Linked DNA regions of Homo sapiens: region 1 is linked to region 2. The links are contacts of gene promoters, found by promoter capture Hi-C in blood cells and fetal thymus (Javierre and others, 2016). All regions are on one chromosome and are shown on one strand. The core of a region is centred on a gene start or on the middle of the fragment in contact, and the rest is flanking DNA. Distances in the headings are between cores, read along the strand shown. Region 1 overlaps KANSL3 (KAT8 regulatory NSL complex subunit 3). Region 2 holds the start of LMAN2L (lectin, mannose binding 2 like).

Region 1 (5,978 bases), core at 881-3,380, 110 kb before region 2:
ATAAGCCAAAGACAAGAATCTGTCAGTGTTTCTCTAAAGGACAGGCAGGAGAAGGTGCACACTGGCCTATTCCGTGGACTCATCTTGCCTAGAGGAAAGATGTGTACATCCAGCTATTCTGCTGTGCCTCCTGTGTAGACTCTCCACTCATCTATTCACTTCTGAAATAAAATGGTTTTCCAGACTTTCCTGCTGAGAACAGACACTCTGGCCAGGCCACCCCAGTGTCTCTTATGCTTTGCAGTTATATCTCTCCTTATAAATTAAGAAACTCAGCCAAGTGCAGTGGCTCACACCTATAATCCTAGCACTTTGGGAGGCAAAGGTGGGCAGACCACTTGAGCCAGGAGTTTGAGACCAGCCTAGGCAACATGGTGAAACCCAATCTCTACAAAAACTACAAAAATTAAGAAATGGTGACGTACTCCTGTAGTCCCAGCTACTTGGGAGGTTAAGGTTCCCACCCGGGAGAATCACCTGAGTCCTGGAGGTCAAGGCTTGTAGTGAGCTGAGATCGTGCCACTGCACTGCAGTCTGGGTGACAGAGTGAGACCCTGTCTCAAAAAAAAGAAAAAAGAAACAAACTGGTATTTATAGTATTATTAAGTCTCTAATGACTTTGATAAGTATGAATTGTCCACAAAAACCTCTTAATCATAACCATGGATAAACTGACAAAAAAAAAAAAAATCACACAGTTCTCCTATGTACTTTCTGAAATTGCAAAGGACAAGGTAGTAGAAAATACCACAAAGGGATACATAACCATACCAGGCCACCTTGTTCAGCCACCACTAACTGGTCTTAATCTCTTCTTACTGCCCTTAATTAAGGCAGAGGGTATGGTAGTTGAGAACACTGGGTTCTGGAGTCAGGCTGCTTGGTTTGAACAAAATCCTTCTCCATCACTTCCTAATTAAGGTTTCTTAAACACCCTGAGCTCAGTTTCTTCATCCTGTTGAGCAGAGATGAAGGGGGGATATACCTCCAAGAGTCATTGGGAGGATTAAGAGACAATGCATTTGAAGAGACATTGATACAATGTCTGGCACCTAGAAAGCACTCAACAAACGGTAGCTCCTTTTTGTTATTACCATCGTCGTTATTTTTTATTATTAACTGTAAAAATAGTGATAAATCCTTTTGCTGAATATACTGACTCTAGCAATATTCCAGTAGTTGATCTTCATTCGTAGCAGTTTTCTTCTTTATCTGAAGCTCAAAAGAGCTTTTTTTTCTTTTTTTGAGATGGTGTTTCACTCTTGGTGCCCAGACTGGAGTGCAATGGCACGATCTCGGCTCACCACAACCTCCGCCTCCCAGGTTCAAGTGATTCTCCTGCCTCAGCCTCCCGAGTAGCTGGGATTACAGGCATGCGCCACCACACCCAGCTAATTTTGTATTTTTAGCAGAGACAGAGTTTCTCCATGTTGGTCAGGCTGGTCTTGAACTCCCGACCTCAGGTGATCCACCCGCCTCAACCTCCCAAAGTACTGGGATTACAGGCGTGAGAAAAGAGCTTCTTAAGGCACTAAATTAATTCCAATGCAAGACCCCAACCAACTTCTTCACAAGCTTTTTCAACCAAGGTGCAGAACTGCTCCTCCCTCAACAGCTGCTGTTTTGATCACACAAGCACACCTGTTCAATCTCATTCCCAACTTCCAACCAGCTTCAGAAGTCATGTCAATCACCTCAAACTTTCTACCCCTCTTTCTCTCTATTATAAAATAAGGGTTCTCCAAAATTATGGAAAGTTACCACCTACCAACTCCTGATATAAGAAGTAACATTTCCTTATATATATAGTAGATATATGGATACACAGACAAAAAGCCATCAACAAAATATAAGTTGAAACCACAATGAGATGCCACTTTACACGCAGTAGAATGGTTATAATTTTTTTAAAAAAGAAGAAAATCAGTAAGTGTTGGCAAGGATATGGAGAAACTAGAACTCTCATACACTGCTGGTAGGAATGTAAAATGGTACAGCCACTTTGGAAAACAGTCTGGCAATTCCTCAAAGGTTAAATACAGAGTTATCATATGACCCAACAAGTCCACTCCCAGGTATATAACTAAGAGAATTAAAAACTTAGATCCACACAAAAACTTGTATGCAAATGTTCATAATAGCATTATTCACAATTGCCAAAAAATGAAAACAATCTAAATATCTATCAACTGATTAATGAATAAATAAAATGTGGGCTATCCATACAATGTAATGTCATTTGGCAATAAAAAGCATGAAGTGCTGATACACGCAACCACATGGATAAACCTTGAAAACATCATGCTGGGTGAAAGAAGCCAGTAGGAAAAGACCACATATTGCATGATTCCATTTATATGAAATGTCCAGAATAGGCAAATCTATAAAGACAAAAGTCAATTAGTGCTTCCTAGGGACCAGAGAAGCTGGGAGGAAACGGGAAGTAACTGTTTATGGGTAAGAGGTTTCTTTTTAGGATGATGAAAATGTTTATCAAATTGATAGTGGTGATGAATATACAACTCTGACTATACTAAAAACCAATGACTGTACATATTAAATAGCTGAATTGTATGGTATGTAAATAATATCCCCAAAAAGCTGTTATGTAATTAGGTAAATGTTTACCAAATGAACAGGGACAAATAACCAGGAGAGGAGTGCTGAGTCCCCTGGGGGCAGTAGAAAGCTTGGGAACAAAACTAGCCAGTATACTCGTGAAAATAGGCTTCAGTGTGCCCTCCATAGCCTGCAAATCTATTTTTAAAAGCCACTCAAACATCTGTTAGCTTTTCATGTGACTTCACAACTTCCATCATCCTAGTTATAAACCATTTAAACACAATATCTTACAAATGTACATTTCATTTTTTTGCAGTTTGGGTAACCCCTATATCATAACTTATACAACAGAAGCTACTACAGAGCTAGTCATATGTATCAAATTTAATTCACTTATTTATTCAACAAACATTATATGCCTACTGTGTGCCAGACAACGTCCTAGTGTGAAGTATGCAAAGATGGCTGAGATGTAAGCCCTACTCTCAAGGAGCTCACACACAGCATGGTGAACTGAGAGTTATAATGTGAGACTTTGGAGAACACTCTGACTTGTGTTGCTGCAAATGAAATAAGGTCCTAATAAGTGTTATTTCAATGAAGATGATACAAAATAATTACAGGGCAGTGATCATCCTCCTGATGAGCAGCCTACCTGTTGACATGCTCCTCCCAGTCCTCTGGTGGAGGAGGGGCATCTGCATCAGTCCTGGCAAAGATGACATGCCGTTCACACTCATTCATCACGCTGCGTGCCTTCTGATTGTCATAGAGTGGCATAGGCGTTGATGTGACCGTCTCCACATCTATTGGGACGTCTGATTCACTGTAAACAGGTGAGGAAATAGGACCGGGCCACACATACTTCACAGGTATTTAACAATCATCTGGTTGACAAAAAATGTATCTTTAATACAGTCAGCTTTAAATTACGCATAAGCACATTATATTCACAAGAAAATTTTGATCCAAAGTCATCTTTCCCACACTTGTCTAGATCTCTGCCCTCTCAGACATGATGGTATGTACTGGAAGAACACAAAGTCATTTTTTCAATGAGTCTATATAAAAAATGATAAACATCTATTTTTTTTTTAAGATAAATATGGGCCAGGTGCACTGGCTCACACCTGTAATACCACCACTTTGGGAAGCCGAGGCAGGTGGATTGCTTGAACTCAGGAGTTCAAGACCAGCCTGGGCAACATGAGGAAACCCTGTCTCTACCAAAAATACAAAAATTAGCTGGGCATGTGGCACACACCTGTGATCCCAGCTACTAAGGAGGCTAAGGTGGGAGGACTGCTGGAACCCGGGAAGTCAAGGCTGCAGTGAGCCATGATTGCATCACTGCACTCCAGCCTGGGTGACAGAGCAAGACCTGGTCTCAAAAATAAATAAATAAATGACAAATACAGCCAGACACAGTGATTCACACCTGTAATCCCAGCACTTGGGAGGCTGAAGCAGGAGGATCACTTAAGCCCAGGAGTGAGCTGGTCTCAAAAAATAAATAAATAAATGACAAATATAGCCAGGCACAGTGATTCATACTTGTAATCCCAGTACTTTGGAAGGCTGAAGGAGGATTGTTTAAGCCCAGAAGTTCAAGACCAGTTTGGCAATATGGCAAAACCCCGTCTCTAAAACAAACACAAAAATTAGCCAGGCATGGTGGTATGCGCCTGCAGTCCCAGAAACTGAAGTGGGAGGATGGCTTGCTTGAGCCCAGGAGGTTGAGGCTACAGTCAGCTCTGATCATGCCACTGCACTCCAGTCTGGGTGACACGGCAAGACCCAGTCTCAAAAAAAAGGACAATATATTCCATAAGCAAGTTGATTTGGCTCAAGCTAATATTTTTAAAAGATCACTTTCAATTTTTGTTTAGTAGGCTACAGCTCAGGAGTGGAATTTAGAAGACCAGCTAGGCAGCCACTGCAGTTGACTGAGATGGGCCAGAAATCATGAGAGCTCGTTTAGGGACAAGAACAGTACAAATGGAGAAAAGTGGCTAACAAGTTGATTGCCTAGATACTGTTCAATACAGTAGGTATAAGCCACACACGACTACTTAAATTGAGGCAGGTGGATCACGAGGTCAGATCGAGACTATCCTGGCTAACATGGAGAAACCCCGTCTCTACTAAAAATACAAAAATTTAGCCAGCCATGGTAGCAGGCATCTGTAGTCCCAGCTACTCAGGACACTGAGGAAGGAGAACGGTGTGAACCCAGGAGGCGGAGCTTGCAGTGAGCCGAGATTGCGCCACTGCACTCCAGACTGGGAGACAGAGCGAGACTCCATCTCAAAAAAAAAAAAAAAAAAAAAATTACTGGGCACAAGGGCTCACAAGGGCTCAGGCTTGTAATCCCAGCACTTTGGGAGGCCAAGGTGGGCAGAACACTTGAGCCCACAAGTTCAACAGTGTGGGCAACATGGTGAAACCCCGTCTCTACTGAAAATACAGAAATTAGCTTGTGGTCCCAGCTACATGGGAGGCTGAGGTGGGAGATCAACTGAGCCTGGGAGGCGGACGTTGCAGTGAGCCAAAATTGCACCACTGTACTTCAGTCTGGGTGACAGAGACCTCGGCCCAAAAAAAAAAAATTTAAATAGAATTAAATATTCAGGCTGGGCGTAGTGGCTCGCGCCTGTAAACCCAACATTTTGGGAGGCCAAGGCGGGTGGATCACCTTAGGTCACGAGTTCGAGACCAGCTTGGCCAACATGGTAAAACCCCATCTCTACTTAAAAAAAACAAAAATTAGGGTGTGGTGGCACGTGCCTGTAGTCCCAGCTACTCAGGAGGCTGAGGCAGGAGAATGGCGTGAACCCGGGAGACGGAGGTTGCAGTGAGCCGAGATCACACCACTGCACCCCAGCCTGGGCAACAGAGCGAGACTCTGTCTCAAAAAAAAAAAAAAAGGCCGGACATGGTGGCTCATGCCGGTAATCCCAGCACTCTGGGAGGCAGAGGCATGCGGATTGCCTGAGCTCAGGAGTTTGCAACCAGCCTGGGCAACATGGTGAAACCTCGTCTCTACTAAACACAAAAAATTAGCTGGGTGTGGCAGCGTGCACCTATAGTCCCAGCTACTTGGGAGACTGCAGCAGGAGAATTGCTTGAATCCGGGAGGCGGAGGTTACCATGAGCCAAGATTGCACCACTGCACTCCAGCCTGGGTGACAGAGCAAGACTCCGTCTCAAAAAAATAAAAAAATAAAAAATTCAGTTCCGTAGTGACGTTAGCCACATTTCAAGCATTCAACAGATACACGTGGCGGCAGTTACCACACTGGACATCCCAGGTATAGAACATTCCTATTATTACAGAGAGTTCTGTTAAACAGTGCTGGTCTAGAGTTTTAAATTCATACAAACTTTCCCTTTCATTAGCAAGTCAACTGGTAGTT
Region 2 (6,181 bases), core at 906-3,405:
CTTTCTGGGTCACCAACACAGGAGGGAGAAAGATTCTTACCACCCGGTTCCACAAGGCACCCTGTTTACTTTGCATATCTGGGGTAAGGCGGATATACTGGGTCATCACCATGGCATTGCCCATCAGATTCCACAGTGAGGAACTGCCTGTGCCCACACCTACAGGAAGGAAGTAGATCAGTTCATACTTTTCAACACCAATCCATTCAGAAAGCAGCCACCACAGAGCCTCTGAAAGCTGAGCCATCATCTTTTTCCCCCTTTAATGTCACTCAATCTCCTATCTTCTCTCAGTCATGAATCTTACCATCTCTACAGCTTTCACAAGGCCTTTATCAGGTAAGGACCCCAAAGCACATCAGAACTCTCACTTTATGCATGTTACAGTAACCATAGCTCACATCCATTCTTCCCGTTTTATATGTGAGTAAACTTCAGCATCGTAAAAGAAAAAAATTTTCCTGAGTTATATCAAAAAGAGTTTGACAGGCCAGGTGCAGTGGCTCACCCATGTAATCCCCACACTTTGAGATGATGTGGAGGGAGGGCATCTTGAGGTCAGCAATTTGAGACCAGCCTGGGCAACATAGAAAGACCCTGTCTTTACCAAAAAAAAAATTAGCCAGGTGTGGTAGTCCTTGTCCATAGTCCTAGCTACTCAGGAGGCTGAGTTGGGAGCATCGCTTGAGCCCAGGAGATTGAAACTGCATGAGCCATGATTGTGCCACTGCACTCCAGCCTAGGCAACGGAACAAGACCTTGTCTCTAAAAATATATAAATATAAATAAAAAGAGTTTGACCCTCAGGCCTCCGGGGCTTAGTCACATTCTTCCTTTTTTTTTTTTCTTTGAGATGGAGTCTCGCTCTGTTGCCCAGGCTGAAGTGCAGTGGCATGACCTCGGCTCACTGTAAGCTCTGCCTCCCGGGTTCACGCCATTCTCCTGCCTCAGCCTCCTGAGTAGCTGGGACTACAGGCGCCCGCCACCACACCTGGCTAATTTTTTTGTATTTTCAGCAGAGATGGGGTTTCACCGTGTTAGCTAGGATGGTCTCAATCTCCTGACCTCGTGATCCGCCCACCTCGGCCTCCCAAAGTGCGGAGATTACAGGCGTGAGCCACCGCCCCAGCCGTCACATTCTTTCTTTAAACAATCCTTAAAGTGTGAAGCTACTCCCTGTACCCTCACCTATAAACTTCTTTAAGAATGAAAACTTTGTGTCTGCAAACCCATAAGCATTAGCAAAGAGACAGCACAGAGGCACTCCAGGCATGTAAGTGAATAAATGATTACCCTTAGTAGTAGAGTATACTCTTGCACTTTGAATTGTTTTCTGTCCCACTACCTACGCCTTAGTGGGGAAAGACTTGTGTTAGTTAAGCCATCTGCACTGGTTTGTCATCGTTTTGTGGCTAACTGCATTAATTTTCTGGCTGATAAGCTGTGCTTAGAGTTCTGTGAACCCTAACCTCTTTCACCAACAGGGCCCCTAGGCTGGAGAAGAGAAGGTGGTTCTACCCAGCAACATAAATTTATCATCTTCTCATTTCGTTCAAGTTCTACCCCAGTTCTTCCTCCTGCTTTATTTCTAGCACATCCACAGGTCCATCTGGAGACTGGCTCATTGCTAGTAGCCCTCAATCACTCCTCACCATTCTCAATTCTCTCCCCTTCCCAAACTCCTCCTGTCTAACTCCAGGCCTAGTACTAGTGGCACCCGACAGCCCTGCCTTTACCTACTGGAAACTTCCAGAGCTTGGCAGGCACACCTAACTCCTGCCTTTCAGACCTGTGGCTCCCAAACGCGGAGGGAGTCTCCGTGGGCCCCACCACCGCCAGCAGTTTCCTCCGGGCCACGAAGCCCTTCGCCGCCCCCGCCTCTACCCCTGAAATCAAGTCCCGAAGCCCGCCCCACTGCACGACCACCTCACCCTGGGCGCCTCACCCTGGTAGGGCTTCGACAGCGAGTGCTCCCGTTTCAAGTACTCGAACGTTTGACCCGCCCCGACTTGCTGTGGCCCCTGCCCAGACCCCAACAAAAGAAGAAGGAGTAACATCCTGGACCCATCCCGAGCCGACAAACATCGCCGCCACTGCTGCCACGACCCAAGGGGTCCCAGAGTCGCCGCCATCTTTCCCACCAACGACCCTTCATCAAAAGCCCGCCCCGTCGCCCAACCCATTGGCCCGAAGAGCCATCTGCCCTGCGTCCTATTGGCTTTCGTCAAGCCCCCGCCCCTGCAGGTGACTATATCACCGATTGGCTGGCTTCTGTATCAGTTGCCTTGCCAACCCAGAAAAGGGGCGTAGCCGAATGCCCAGCCCCCCCCCTTATTTGCATTTGCCCTGAGTTCCACTAGGCTTGCTGGGATACGTAGTTTATTTGTATTTTGTTTTCTGCGTACGAGAGTAAATTTAAAGAGATAAAACGTTTCTTCTGGTCCCAAACATTCTATCCTCTCTGCAATAGTACGCTCCTGACTGCAGCTCTCTGAATCAATTTGGAAGATATAGCAGTGAAAGGAGAAATAGACAAATCCGTAAAATAGCTGGAAAACTATCAATTTATAAAAGACTTGAACAGCACTACCAACTAACTTGACCTGATGATATTTATAGAAACTCCACCTAACAACTGCGGAAGACACATTCTCTTCAAATGCAAATGACTCCTTTGCCGTGATAGTCTGGGCCATCAAGCAACCTACAGATATAAAAGAACTGAAAGCACACAAATTAATTAATTCTAAAAGCCATCACCTCCTTTCCTCCCTTCCTCTTTTTTTTCTTTTTGGTTTGAGACGAGGTCTTGGCCAGGCGCGGTGGCTCACGCCTGTAATCCCAGCACTTTGGGAGGCCGAGGCAGGCGGATCACCTGAGGTTGGGAGTTCGAGACCAGCCTGACCAAGGTGGAGAAACCCCGTCTCTATTAAAAATAAAAAAAAAAATTAGCCAGGCGTGGTGGCACGTGCCTGTAATCCCAGCTACTGGGAGGCTGAGGCAGGAGAATCGCTTGAACCTGGGAGGCAGAGGTTGCAGTGAGCCGAGACCAAGCCATTGCACTCCAGCCTGGGCCACATAGAGCAAAACTCCATCTCAAAAAAAAAAAAAAAAAGAGAGACAAGGTCTTGCTCTGTTGCCCAGGCTGGAGTGCAGTGGCACAATCTCAGCTCCAGCCTCTCCCTCCCTGGCTGAAGTGATCCTGCCACCTTAGCCTCCTGAGTTACTGGGACTACAGGCACATCCCTTCGTCTTTATCCGGCACCACAACATGTGTCCAGACTGGTCTCCACGTAGCCACTAAAGTGATCCAAACTATCTAACCATGGTAAGTGTCAGGGTTAAATGAGTCAATATTGGTAAACCTCTTAGAACAGTGCCTTGCGTGTAGTAAGCACTATTTCTTTCTTTTTTCTTTTCTTTTTTTTTTTGTTTTTGTTTTTGTTTTTGTTTTTGAGACAGGGTCTCTCTCTGTCACCCAGGCTGGAGTGCAGTGGCATGACCACAGCCTCAACCTCCTGGACTCAAGGGATCTTCCCACTTCAGCCTCTCAAGTAGCTGGGACTACAGGTGTGTGCCACCTCACCTTGCTAATTTTTATTTTTTGTAGCTATGGGGTTGTGGGGGAGGTCTCACTAAGTTGCCCAGATTTGTCTCATACTTCTAGACTTCAGTGATCCTCTCTCCTCAGCCTCCCAAAGTGCTGGGATTAGAGGTGTAAGCCACCGCACCAAGCCATAAGCGCTATTTCATCATCATCATTCTTATTAACCGGGCCTTTGATGGCTCACCATCACCTGTGGGGAGGAGATTCAAGCCCCTCAATTTGGCACACAAAGCCCCCTGCCATCTGGCCCTGGCCTTATTGCCCATGACTCTTTTCCTCCATCTTTATGCTCCAGCTTCCCTTCCCTCTTTTTTTTTTCTGCAGTCCACTTCCTTCTGGAGGTCCTTCTCAAACCTCTCAGGCAGGGTAGATTCTCCTGTCTGAGCTCTCAAAGTGTTCCATGCACATCTCATATAGAGCAATTGACAGATCTGTGTTTATGTCTTCCCAATAGACTTAACCAAAGTTAACACTCTCTTGCTTTCCTGAGCATGAATATATTTAATAAGATAAACATAATTATGAGCCTACTTTACAGGGGATCAACTTTTTAAAATTAAAGCTGTCACAGCTATTTTTTTTAAAGAGATGGGGTCTTGGCTGGGCACGGTGGCTCAGGCCTGTAATCCCAGCACTTTGGGAGGCAGGCGGATCACCTGAGGTCAGGAGTTCAAGACCATCCTGGCCAACATGGTGAAACCCCATCTCTACTAAAAATACAAAAAATTAGCCAGCCGTGGTGGCACACGCCTGTAGTCCCAGCTACTCAGGAGGCTGAGGCAGGAGAATCACTTGAACCCAGAAGGCGGAGGTTGCAGTGAGCCGAGACCGCACCACAGCACTCCAGCCTGGGCAACACAGTGAGACTTCGTCTCGAAAAATATATATATACATATATATACAAAAATTAAATGGGCGTGGTGGCAGGTGCCTGTAATCCCAGATACTTGGAAGGCTGAGGCAGGAGAATCACTTGAACCCAGGAGGTAGAGGTTGCAGTGAGTCAAGAAGATCCCACCACCATACTCCAGCCTGAGCAGCAGATCCGTCTCAAAAAAACAAAAAAAAGAAGAAATGGGGTCTCAATCCATCAGGCTGGGGTGCAGTACTGTGATCATAGCTCACTACAGTCTCAAACTGCTGGGTGAGCCTCAGCTAATTTTTAAAATTTTTTCTAAAGATGGGGGTCTCTATGTTGCCCAGGCTGGTTTTGAACTTCTGGCCTTAAGCGATCCTCCCACCTCATCTCTCAAAGTGCTGAGATTACAGGTGTGAGCCATGGTGCCCAGCCTGTCACTGCCATCAGTCTTTGACACCCTACAATGTCAAATGTCTGGTGCTAAGACTTTAGGAATTGCAATGAATCTGTTCGTGTCATACACTGGCTTTAAAACCATTCATAACTCCCAATTACCAAAATCCAAAGTCCTTAGTGTAGCATTCAAAGCCCTTTGCATCCTGACTGAAATCAGGCGCTACGCATGTGTACTGTAATGTGTGTCACCTGGAATTATGGAGCTCAATTAACAGATTATGGGTTTGTCTCCGCAGCAAGGCTGGGAGCTCCAGGACCACAGGAAGCAGGTCTTACTCATTTCCTAACTCAGGCCCCACCCATTTCCCCAACCCCAACCTATCACCCAGCACATAGTAGGGGTTCTAATTGTTTTGAATAAATTATTTCCATTGCATTTCTCTGCAAGATGAATTTTTAATTGTAGTAAAATGCACATAAAGGCCGGGCGCGGTGGCTCACACCTGTAATCCCAGCACTTTGGGAGGCCGAGGTGGGTGGCTCATCTGAGGTCGGGAGTTCGAGACCAGCCTGACCAACATGAAGAAACCCCGTCTCTACTAAAAATACAAAATTAGCCGGGTGTGGTGGCGCATGCCTGTAATCCCAGCTAGTTGGGAGGCTGAGGCAGGAGAATCGCTTGAACCTGGGAAGTGGAGGTTGCGGTGAGCCAAGATCGCGCCACTGCACTCCAGCCTAGGCAACAAGAGTGAAACTCTGTCTCAAAAAAAAAAAAGAAAAAAAATACATAAAATACAGCGTATAATTTTTAAGTACAGATGGTCCTCAACTTACAATGGGGTTACCTACAGAAAAACTAAACCCATCCTAAAGTCTAAAAATCCTAAGTCAAACCATCATTAAGTCAGGACCATGTGTGTTCAGTTCAAAGGCATTAAATTCATTCGCAGTGTCATGCACCCTGTCAGCTGAATTTCTGATAGATTGACACAAGCAGAAATCTCATTGTAAAATTCTGTGTGATGAGGAAAAGGGGAATAAAGGAGAAGGGTGTGAAAGGTGAGATGCACTGGACTATAAATCAAATCATTTTGTTCAGACTGTTGCAATAGGAAGAATGCTTATTAATGAGGAATGTATCAAAGAAAAGGAAGAGCCAGGCCCGGTGGCTCATACCTGTAATCCCAGTACTTTGGGAGGCTGAGGCGGGTGGATCATGAGGTCAGGAGTTCGAGACCAGCCTGGCCAATATAGTGAAACCCCATCTCAACTAGAAATACAAAAATTAGCCAAGCGTGGTAGTGCACACCTGTAGTCCC

What was found. The method cuts DNA at HindIII sites, captures the fragments that hold promoters and counts their contacts. A CHiCAGO score of 5 or more calls a contact.
Region 1: a contact is called between a fragment that was not itself captured here and the fragment with the promoter of LMAN2L in region 2, in 17 of 17 cell types (M0 macrophages, M1 macrophages, monocytes and 14 more). The highest score is 15.7, in M0 macrophages.

Annotation. Positions count from the first base shown.
Region 1 is chr2:96,628,095-96,634,072 of GRCh38, forward strand. KANSL3 (KAT8 regulatory NSL complex subunit 3) reads right to left here. Exons shown (of 21, transcript NM_001115016.3): 3 at 3,218-3,388. Among named protein-coding and RNA genes, the nearest start is that of KANSL3, 7.2 kb to the right of the region's middle. The HindIII fragment of the contact is 1,114 bases long and covers 1,574-2,687 here.
Region 2 is chr2:96,737,909-96,744,089 of GRCh38, forward strand. LMAN2L (lectin, mannose binding 2 like) reads right to left here and starts at 2,156. Exons shown (of 8, transcript NM_030805.4): 1 at 1,946-2,156; 2 at 41-159. The coding sequence starts at 2,132. RefSeq lists enhancers at 532-1,471, 1,472-2,409. The HindIII fragment of the contact is 9,784 bases long and covers 1-6,181 here.